Linked DNA regions of Homo sapiens: region 2 is linked to region 1. The links are contacts of gene promoters, found by promoter capture Hi-C in blood cells and fetal thymus (Javierre and others, 2016). All regions are on one chromosome and are shown on one strand. Each heading gives the region's core, a stretch centred on a gene start or on the middle of the fragment in contact. The rest is flanking DNA. Distances are from core to core; before and after follow the strand shown. Region 1 holds the start of DGUOK (deoxyguanosine kinase). Region 2 overlaps SLC4A5 (solute carrier family 4 member 5).

Evidence for each region. Contacts are between HindIII fragments. The CHiCAGO score rates a contact against its expected background, and 5 or more counts as called.
Region 2: a fragment that was not itself captured here is called in contact with the fragment with the promoter of DGUOK in region 1 in 2 of 17 cell types (activated CD4 T cells and non-activated CD4 T cells); the score reaches 5.1 in activated CD4 T cells.

Annotation. Positions count from the first base shown.
Region 1 is chr2:73,925,239-73,930,320 of GRCh38, forward strand. DGUOK (deoxyguanosine kinase) reads left to right here and starts at 1,642. Exons shown (of 7, transcript NM_080916.3): 1 at 1,642-1,814. The coding sequence starts at 1,673. RefSeq lists an enhancer at 1,674-1,943. The HindIII fragment of the contact is 7,290 bases long and covers 321-5,082 here.
Region 2 is chr2:74,221,106-74,226,254 of GRCh38, forward strand. SLC4A5 (solute carrier family 4 member 5) reads right to left here. Exons shown (of 31, transcript NM_133478.3): 28 at 3,735-3,890; 29 at 1,763-1,847; 30 at 329-396. The coding sequence ends at 362. Among named protein-coding and RNA genes, the nearest start is that of MTHFD2, 25 kb to the left of the region's middle. RefSeq lists an enhancer at 57-351. The HindIII fragment of the contact is 4,313 bases long and covers 1,057-5,149 here.

The sequences.
Region 1 (5,082 bases), core at 392-2,891:
GCAACTAAAGACTTGGCCTGCCACCAGCCTGACTGATTGCCCGCGGGGACCAGTCAGAGGTACTTTCAATTTTTTATCTGCCACCCAGAAGAGGGATTAGCTTCTGGTCCTTTTGTTACTTGGGCTAGAAAGTTGGGGTTTTCCTTTTGATTTAGTTCTAGGAAGTCAGCCTAAATCGGCCTTAGGTTCCCTGTCTCCAGACCCTATTTTCCTGCCTCGTAGCTTTTAGGAGATTAATGCCTGCCTGCAGACAACTTCCTCATTTAACTTTCACAACACCCCTGAGGCAGCAAGATCCTGGCGAGGCAGAGAGCCTCTCAAGCTTTTTTGGATGAATATTTTCCAAGTCTGAGTTTACATAGGTAAAGAAATGTAAGCAGTTTTTTTTTTGTTTTTTGTTTTGTTTTGTTTTGTTTTGTTTTGTTTTAACAGAAGTGGCTGCTGGAGTGGAGATGGGAATGGGTAGGACTTTAGCCGCTCCAGTAGCCATTAACGCCCCACCCTGGTTATCCTTAAAAAATTCGATTAAAAAAAAAGTTCTTAATATATAAACATGACCTCAGCCATCCTATATATACATCAACATAAGAAAAAGGTCCCGTGCTTTTTATGGGAACAGCTTCAAGACAGGTATCCCAGCCCCCGGCCCCTCCCCAGCCCCCTTGCAATCAGATCCTTGTCTTCTAAAACCTGCCACACCTAAGAGCGCTGCCTGAAGGCCGGTTTGGCCTGTTGACTCCTGGTTTTGACTGTTGGTGATTTAAGCGATTGGAACTGGAAGCACCATTTGACAACATTTTGTAAATCATTACTTCTGAGGTTGTTATGACGACGGGGTGTGGCAGTCCGGCTTCACCTGTGGCAGCAGCTTAGGTCCCTGCCCTCCTGCAGAGCACACTTCACCGACAGCAGGACTCAGGTTTTATACAAGTCTCTACTCGCCATTGCTTACGTCCAAGAACCCAGCCTACCAGGTTTAAACAATTTCCAGTCACATACCTGAGCCACCACCACCTTATCCTGAAGGGATTTTTGGGTATAATGCAAATCGATTGACCGAACATTTATTTACTTATTCAAGACACAAACTAAGAGATGGGGTGTAACTGATTATCTAATTTGTTAATTTAGTCAATAATATGCCAGCATTGTGCAGGGGAATTACAGGGAATAGGAAAAAGTTAAATTTGTGTAAATCATCAGATTGAGTCATTTTCCTACTTTAAAACTTCCATTTTCTTCCGATATTAAAATAAAAACCAGACAACAAGCACCTGGGGGGGGGGAAATCCCCTCTTAAAATTACAATTTCTATTTTTAATTTTGTCTTCAGTTATAAAATTTATTTTAAAGTTATACAAAAATGAAGTGGTTGGATTGTGGAATTACGTCTTTTAAAATGTTATTTGTCCAATGAACAAAAACCACTCGCACCGCAACTCCTTTTACTATCAAATTCTGCACCGTTGCAAAACTTCCTTCACTCAACGCTTCTTTACAAACATCGCGATAGCGGAGCGGTCTCTTGGGCGCACCCCGCCGCATGTTCAACCCCACCCACTTCCTGTCTGACGATCTCCTTACGTCAACGGTGCGCTGGAGCGAGTGAGCAGCGATACCTAGGGCGGAAGTGCTCTCGGCGGAAGTGATCGCTGTGTGAATCGTGGGTGGGATGGCCGCGGGCCGCCTCTTTCTAAGTCGGCTTCGAGCACCCTTCAGTTCCATGGCCAAGAGCCCACTCGAGGGCGTTTCCTCCTCCAGAGGCCTGCACGCGGGGCGCGGGCCCCGAAGGCTCTCCATCGAAGGCAACATTGGTAAGGGCCGGAAAGCGGCTGCCAAGCCTTGGCCTCCGCCACGCAGGCGACAGAGGCTGGGAAAGGAGCTGGGCCCGGAATGGCCTGCGTCTGATGCGGCCGGCCTCTTTTTCTGGGCTGCGAGGAGAGCCTTTCCCCTCGCAAAGTGCACTGTGTATCTTTGCCTCCTTGTTTTTAGGATATCGGGCCTCAGTACCCGCCCACAGGAACATATTTGTTGGGGCATAAAAGCCACGCAGTTAGTGGATAGGACAAGAATTGTATTAGCTGTTTGTAATAGATCGAAATTGAAGCGACAAGCGGGTGCAGTTTATTTGTTCTCCTAGATAGGGTTGCCATATTTAGCAGAAATTAAAAATAATATCCAGTTAAAATAGAATTTAAGATAACGAATAATTTTTAGTGTGTGTCCAATGCAATATTTGGGACATCCTTACAGCAAAACAACAACGAAATCACTCATTGAAAGTTCAAATTTAACTGTGTCCTGTATTTTATCTGGCAACCCTATTCGAAGAGAGTTCCTAAATTTCAGTCGTTCAAATACCACATTCACAATTTTTGCCCTGTGCCTGTGCTAGTTGCATAATAATTTCTTAAGGCTTTTCTTAGAAGAACCTCACTTTTTAAACTTAAAAACATGTATTAAATTAAAAATTATTTTGTTAAAAGAGTGAGATCCAGTATCTTGAATAAAAAGTAGTCAGAAAGCAAAATGAAGGCAAAGCATTTCGATTTAATATTAATAAATTCTGACTTGATACTTTTATCTACCAAGTCACTGAGCCCCTAAAAGGGGCTTAGCAAGTGTTGAGTACTGAAGACGTAGCAGCAAACTGAGAATTTCTTTTTTTATTCATTCAACAAATCACCTTTTGAGCCACTTCCATATGCCAGCACTGTTCTTGGCCTGGAGAATACAGCTGTGAATAGAACAAATAAAAATCTCTGCTCTCATGGAACTCAAGTAGGGAGAGATGGACAATAAACAACATAAATTAAGCAAGGTGAACAATATGTTAGAGAGTAATAAGTATGATGGAGAAAAATTAGGGATGAAGAATTGAGGGAAGTTTTTATTTTATTTTATTTGAGATGGAGTTTTGCTCTTGTTACCCAGGCTGGAGTGCAATGACACGATCTCGACTCACTGCAACCTCTGCCTCCCTGGTTCAAGCGATTCTCCTGCCTCAGCCTCCCGAATAGCTGGGATTAGGGGCACCCGCCACCACACCCAGTTAATTTTTGTTTTGTTAGTAGAGACAGGGTTTCACCATGTTGGCCAGGCTGGTCTCAAACTCCTAACCTCAGGTGATCCGCCTGCCTCGGCCTCCCAAAGTGCTGGGATTATAGGCGTTAGCCACTGCACCTGGCCGAAGTTGTCATTTTAAATAAAATAAGCAAGGCCTCACTGAGAAGGTGACATCTGAGCAAAAAACTGAAGATGAGGGAGCAAATCACGTGGATACCTGGGAGAAGAATCTTCTAGGCAGAGTGAAGAGCAATTGGAAAGGCCCTGAGGTGGAAAGTGTGTTCGGGGAATAGGAGGGAAATCGTTGTGACTGAAGTCGAGTGAGCAAGGATGGGAGGGAAATTAGGGCAAAAGCCCAAGGGGTGGCCAGATTTTATAGGCCTTATCATGGGTTTTTAATCTTACCGAGATGGGTAGCCATTGGAAGGTTTGAGGAGTCAAGTGACAGTTTTACTTAGATTATAAAAAGATCACTGTGGCTGATAACATTGAAAGTGAAGAGTGTTAAGTGGTATTGCAATAATTATAGTATTGTGAAAAGTGAAAGTGGTGAGACGTGATTGGATTCTAGTTATACGTTAACAAAAATTGAGTTACATTTTAAGTAAAATTTAACAGTGGAAGTGGTGAGAAATGATTGGGTTCTAGTTATATTTTAAGATAGGGCCAATTGGATTTGGTGACAGGTTGAATGCAGAGTGTAAGGTAAAGAGAGGGGCCAATGATGACTCCAATTATTTTGACTTGAGTACTTGAAAGATAGACTCCTGATTTTCTTTTATTTCCTCCTCTCCTTCTTCCTCCCCTCCCCTCGCTTCCCCTCCTTTGGTGTGGTCTTGCCCTGTTGCCAGGCTAGAATACAGTGATGCAATTGCATCTCACTGCAGCCTGCCTCCCAGGCTCAAGCCATCCTCCCACCTTAGCCTCTTGAGTAGCTGGATCCACAGGTGTTTGCCACTATGCGTGGCTAATTTTGTATATTTTTTGTAGAGACAGGGTCTCACTATATTTTCCAGGCTGGTCTTGATCTCCTGGGCTCAATTGATCCTCCTGCCTTGGCTTCCCAAAGTGCTGGGATTACAGAAGTGAGCCTTGGTTTTAAGCATGTTAGGTTTTTACATGCCTATTAATATCCAAGTAGAGGTGTTGAATAGGTAATTGGATATGTAAGTTCAGAATTAGGGTCTCCCCGGACTGGAGCTGTAAATGTAGGTGGTATTTAATGCCAGAGACTATGTGTTGATGGAAAGGACTGAGCCCTGAGCATGCAAATATTATGAAACTGGGGAGATGGGAAGGAATAAGCAGAGACTGAGAAGGAATGCCTACTGAGGTAGGAGAAAAAAACAAAAGAGAATGATATCCTGGAAGCCAAGTGAAGAAGGTATTCAGTGGGAGGGAATGATCAGCTGTGTTATACTGTTTAAGTAAATGAAGGTCTTTGGTGAACTTGAAAAGAACAGTTTTAGGAGTGTTAGGAGTGAAAGCCTAATTGGTATAGGTTCAAGGAGAATGGGAGGTGAGGAGAGTGGGTTAAGATAACTGGAAGTTTTTAGAAAGGGAAGTCATGGGGTGGTAGCTGAAATTAGAAGAGGGTGTGAGTGTTTAACATTTTTAATTTTCTTTTTGTGAAAAGAATTAGAGCATGTTTTTAAGTTGACAGAAGTGGTCTAGTGGAAAGGAGGAAAATTGGTAAATCGGGACAGAGGATAGAATTGCTGGAGTGATTTTTAAGCAAGAAAGAATGGAATCTATTGCCCAGTGGGAAATAATTTAGTCTTAGCTAGGAGCACAATTCATCCCTAGTAACAGGCGTGATGGCAAAATATATGAGCACCAACTTCAGAGGGTGTGGTGGGAACTTGGGAAGGTCTTTTGGTTGTGTCTGTTTTCAGAGTGAAGTAGGAAGAAAGGTCATCAGCTAAGAGTGAATGTAGAGACAGAAGACATGAAATACTCTAGTGAATAAGCAAGAGAAATGTTGAATTACTGGGTACCATTTAGGACCCACTTGGA
Region 2 (5,149 bases), core at 1,963-4,462, 300 kb after region 1:
GTGCTGGGATTACAGGTGTGAGGCACCGTGCTGGGCCACAACGTTTACTTTCAATTTTTGTTCTACCTAATCTTTTATAAGAATTTCCTTTACTAAAGTTGAATACCTTTGTGTGTTGTAACCATGTTGTTAAGTCAGTAAGAAGACATACTTGTTTCTTGGCCCTGAATGATGAGTCAGGTTTGTCAGCCTTTGACTCCCAGTTGGGGGCCAGCAAGGGCCTTCTACTGAGAGGACAGCTAGCTTGGGAAATCCTAGACCCTCCACCTTCCCGGCCATTTCCTAGTCTCTTACCTAATACGCAAGGAGTCTACCTAACAGTGTTTACCTTCGGTCAAGTTCTGTGTCACTGAAGGAAGAATCAGAGTGAGTAACTCCAACTGGAAGATCTTTTTCCTGGCAGGAAAATGAAAAATGTCAGATGTGGAGCAGGTTTGAGCACCATATTTCTCCGGGCTTCCCCCACCATTTCCTTTCTTTTCCTTCTCTAACCCTAGAGCCAACACTATGCAAGAGGAATACGGGGCCTCAGAGATGTGTGGCTTCGGGCTTAGTTACTCCTTCACCCAGAAGGTGCTCAGCCAGGGCTAGGGGGTGTGAGGCATGGGAGGGCCAGGGAAGAGAGAAATAGGAGTGGGGGAGGAGTCTGAGAAACTCAAGATCTTGAGGTACCTATGATGGACAGTGCTGATGGGAAGGATGCCCTGGCTACCCACCCCTAATCTGTCTTTGAGGGTGGCAAGCCCTGTATTAGAAGCACGGGGCTCGGGACTAAGGTAGGGATCTTTCAGAAGACCTCGGGACAGGCTATGTTGCCTGGATGACAGGACTGGCCACCTATAGGGAGCTGAGGCTGGGAGGGGTTAAAGGCAGTAATATAATCTCCCAGGATTTCCATAAGCAATGCCCAGTCCCTCCTAGGCAGCCTCCCTCTCAGCTGTCTGCTGAGAAGGTGCTGAGGATTCACACAGAGGCACAGCACAACCACCACGAGGACCTCCAATTATGCCTGACTTATAACCCAAGTGCTATGCTACCTATTTCTCTAAAGGGAAAAGCTTGGTTCTGAGCCCTCAACCATTTCAACAGCCACTGGAAAACATGGGAGGCCTGGTGGGCCATGTTTGGACTGATGTGGTCTGAAACAACATAGAAGAGGGCCAGGAGATGCCACAGGGATCTGGGGACACCTGGGGAAAGGAGGGAATGAGGGATTTTGCCTCAACTAAAGTGAGAATTAGTCGAGTCTGCAGGCTTTGCTCTGGGGTTTCCATCTGGTTGGAGTACCAGTCCTGGTGGCCCAGTTCTCTTTGATCTCTGCCAAGGACAAAGGTCTTCTAGCGCAGGGGTCCTCAGCTCCCAGGCCATGGAACAGTAGCAGAACCAGGCCGCACAGCAGGAGGTGAGCATGGGCGAGCAAGCATTAACCCCTGTGCTCCAGCTCCGGTGGGATCAGTGGCAGCAATAGATTCTCATAAGGGTGAGAACCCTATTGTGAACTGTCCATATGCAGGATCTAGGTTGCGTATTCCTTAAGAGAATCTGAGGTGGAACAGTCTCATCCCAAAACCATTCCCCACTCCCTACTGGTCCGTGGAAAAACTATCTTGCACAAAACTTGTCCCTTATGACAAAAAAGTTGGGGACTGCTGCTCTAGCATCCAAAATGATTAGATCCCCCTGAGTTACAGATGAAAGTTCCTAGGGGAAAGACATGGAGGACTAGTAGTAAGAAGGGAGAGACATCATGTGTTTTACTTACTGGCAATGCAGTGGATACCGTTTTGGGGATCTGATTGGACACTTTCCATGGGAATCTTTATAACCGAGGGAGGAGGGAACTGGGGCTGGAGAAAAACAGTGGGAAAAGAGGATAAACACCAACACAACAATTTGGCTTTCTTTTTTTTTTTTTTTGAGACAGAGTCTCGCTCTACTGCCCAGGCTGGAGTGCAGTGGTGCGATCTCGGCTCACTGTAACCTCTGCCTCCTGGGTTCAAGTGATTCTCCTGCCTCAGCCTCCCAAGTAGCTGGGATTACAGGCGTGCACCCCCATACCTGGCTAATTTTTTGTATTTTTAGTAGAGATGGGGTTTCACCATGCTGGCCAGGCTGGTCTTGAACTCCTGACCTTGTGATCCCCCCTGCCTCGGCCTCCCAAAGTGCTGGGATTACAGATGTGAGCCACCGCGCGTGGCCAACAACTTGGCTTTCTTGCCAAGATGGAAAATGCATGCATGAACATTGCAAACCACCATTCTGTTCACCTCTAAACAGTTAGGGGATGCTGCAAATACCCTGGGGTCCACTGAAGGGGAATGGGCACAGTTAGCCTGCTGTCCTATACACACCATCAGACAGACCGGAACTCTTCCAGGAATGTTACTCATCAAAACAGTTTTATCTGTCACAGCAACCAGTCACTTGGGAATGAACCTCACACAACAACTGTGTTGCTATAAGACAAGTAAAATGAATTTGTATAAATTGAATCCTGTTTTTCCATTGATATATCATAATTCAGAGATTCTTTTTCCCAACCCTGTAATAGTTCTTGGCATGTGGTAGCCACTCAGATATTTATTGAAAGTATCAACAAAAGAAGTATTTGTCTTTAAAAGGCACTTAGTCTCTGTTTCTTTGTTTTCAGAACCCACCTTTACAAATCATCTACAAACACATGCATTATGGGACTCTTCCTGGAAGAGCACAGTAATTAAGGACCAGGGGAGTTCTGACTGATCAGAAGATGGTTTAATCACCACCAGCCAGTCAGAAGGGATTTGCCTTGAACAGGTTTCATCTGCACAAGGCAAAATCACGAGAACAGGACAGGGTGGATGCAGGGACGTGAGTTTGGGTCAAATTGGGAGATTGGGAACCAAGCACAGCATTAGGAGATGGCACAGGCAGCTTAGCATATCAGAAACCAGCAAAGTCAGGAATTATTTTCTTAATTCCTTCTTAGAAATGTAGCTACATGTCCATTTTGGGTAAGTCACTTCCTTTTGTGGGGACAGTTTCATCATAAGTAATGAACACATGAATTAAGAATCTTTCTGCCTCATGTTTTGTGATTCACTATAATTTCTGGACTGGCCCCTTGTCTGTTGACTCCCTGAGTGTTTTGGGGATGAAATGGGAAGGGACCATGGGAGAAGAGGGGCAGATGGGGCAACCATGTTGTCCCAGACATCTGGGAAATGTAGCCAGTCTCCTTTTGGCGAGGATACCTGCCTCTTTCCCCATCTTTGTCCTCAATACCCTAGGCAAAGGCGCAAGCAAAACTTGTTCCCAGCCCCTCCTGCCTGTCTGGAGTCCAGTCTACTTATAAGGCCCCATTAGACACCTCTCCCCAAGTCTGCTCCACTCTTTGGAGGTCAGTCTTCATAACCTCCTTCCATGCTGGAGCTGCCTCCTGGCCCTTCCCACAGGAACCCGCTTGCTGTGATCACGGCCGTAAAGCCCACAGTGATGGAAAGAGTGGGCATGGCCAGTCACCTTTTCCCTGGACAGGGAGTCTCATTCACTCTGGCCCACCCTGAGGATATTCACATAAACAGAAGAGCCCTCAACACCCCAGACCAAGACAAGCAGATGCCCCAGCCCATCCTGGACTGGGCCGAGGCACTGCTGCAGGCCACCCAAGAAGCCGCCCTCTCCCTGTCCCTGGCAAAAGTGGAGAGAAGGTCTCTCAATTTCTCCTCTGTGCCCCGGCCTCACATCTTCCCCACCTCCTCATCACAGTCCTCGTGGGCCCCTTTTTTTCTCTTCCTCTTCTTGTCTGTCTCCTTTTTTTCCTTCTCTGGGAGGATGTTGTCAATCCAGGCCAGGTCGTGCTGGGAAAAGATGAAATCCAGAAGCCTTCGAACGATGATGAGGCCCAGGATCTGTGGTGGAGAGAGACTAAAGTTTTGTGAGAATTTGGAGAAAACTGTGGTCTCAATGCCCAAACTCAGGCATAGATTTTTTTCTCCCTCAGTCGGCTGAGTTCAGGGACTTTTTGTGGTGTCTTTGGAGCCGTCTCGAAGCTCCCATAAGCCATTATTCACTTTCCCTCCACCGTAGTTCCTCTTGTCTGGCCCCTCAGGTGAGTGACCATGCCTACCAGTGACCAAGAGGGACGGAGCCTGTGACAGCCGAAGTGGGGAGCCTCAGAAAGGCCATGGGCTGGAGAACTACAGTTATTCTTTAAATTAGTGGTTCTCAGCCAGGCGTGGTGGCTCACACCTGTAATCCCAGCACTTTGGGAGGCCGAGGTGGGCAGATCGCCTGAGGTCAGGAGTTTAAGACCAGCCTGGCCAACATGGTGAAACCCTGTCCCTACTAAAAGTACAAAAGTTAGCCAGGCATGGTGGTGGGTGCCTGTAGTCCCAGCTGCTCAGGAGACTGAGGCAGAAGAATCGCTAGAAACCGGGAGGCGGAGGTTGCAGTGAGCCAAGATTGTGCCACTGCATTCCATCCTGGGCGACAGAGCAAGACTCCATCTCAAACAAATAAAATAAATACATAAATTAGTGGCTCTCAAACTTGAGCATGCACCAGGACCTGGAGGGCTTGTTAATTAATACACAAATCACTGGATTCCCCCAGTTTCTGATTTAGCAGGTCAGGTAATGCCTGAGAATTTATGTCTCTAACCACTCTGTACATTTGCCAAAACTCATAGACCCACACATTGAATTTTACTGTATGCAAATTAAACAAAAAAATCAATAGGTGGAGGGTGTGGGTCTTGCCCTGCCCTATCTGGCTGTGTGTCCAGGGTCACTCTGCTCATGCTCTCTGAGCCTCATTTTCTCATCTGTAAAGCGGGGTTATTAGTGCTTTGGGGGCTGGTGTGGACTCAGTGGAACAGTACTCAGTAAATGCTAATCATGACTACTACTGCCTTTCCCTTCGCCAGCTCTGAGGCCCCTGAGGGCACTGGGGGGAGGATCTATCTCCCTTTCCCTGCAGTGGGGGTTCTCAACCCTGGCTGCAGGTCTATGCTCACCTGTGGACCTCATAAAAATACCAAAGTCTGGGTTTCCCTAGAGATTCTGATTTGTTGATCTGGGTTGATTTTCATGGGCAGCCCGGGTCAAGAACCATGGACTAGACCCCTCCCAGCAGTGTGCACTTCAAGTTCTCCTCAGTGTCCTTACTT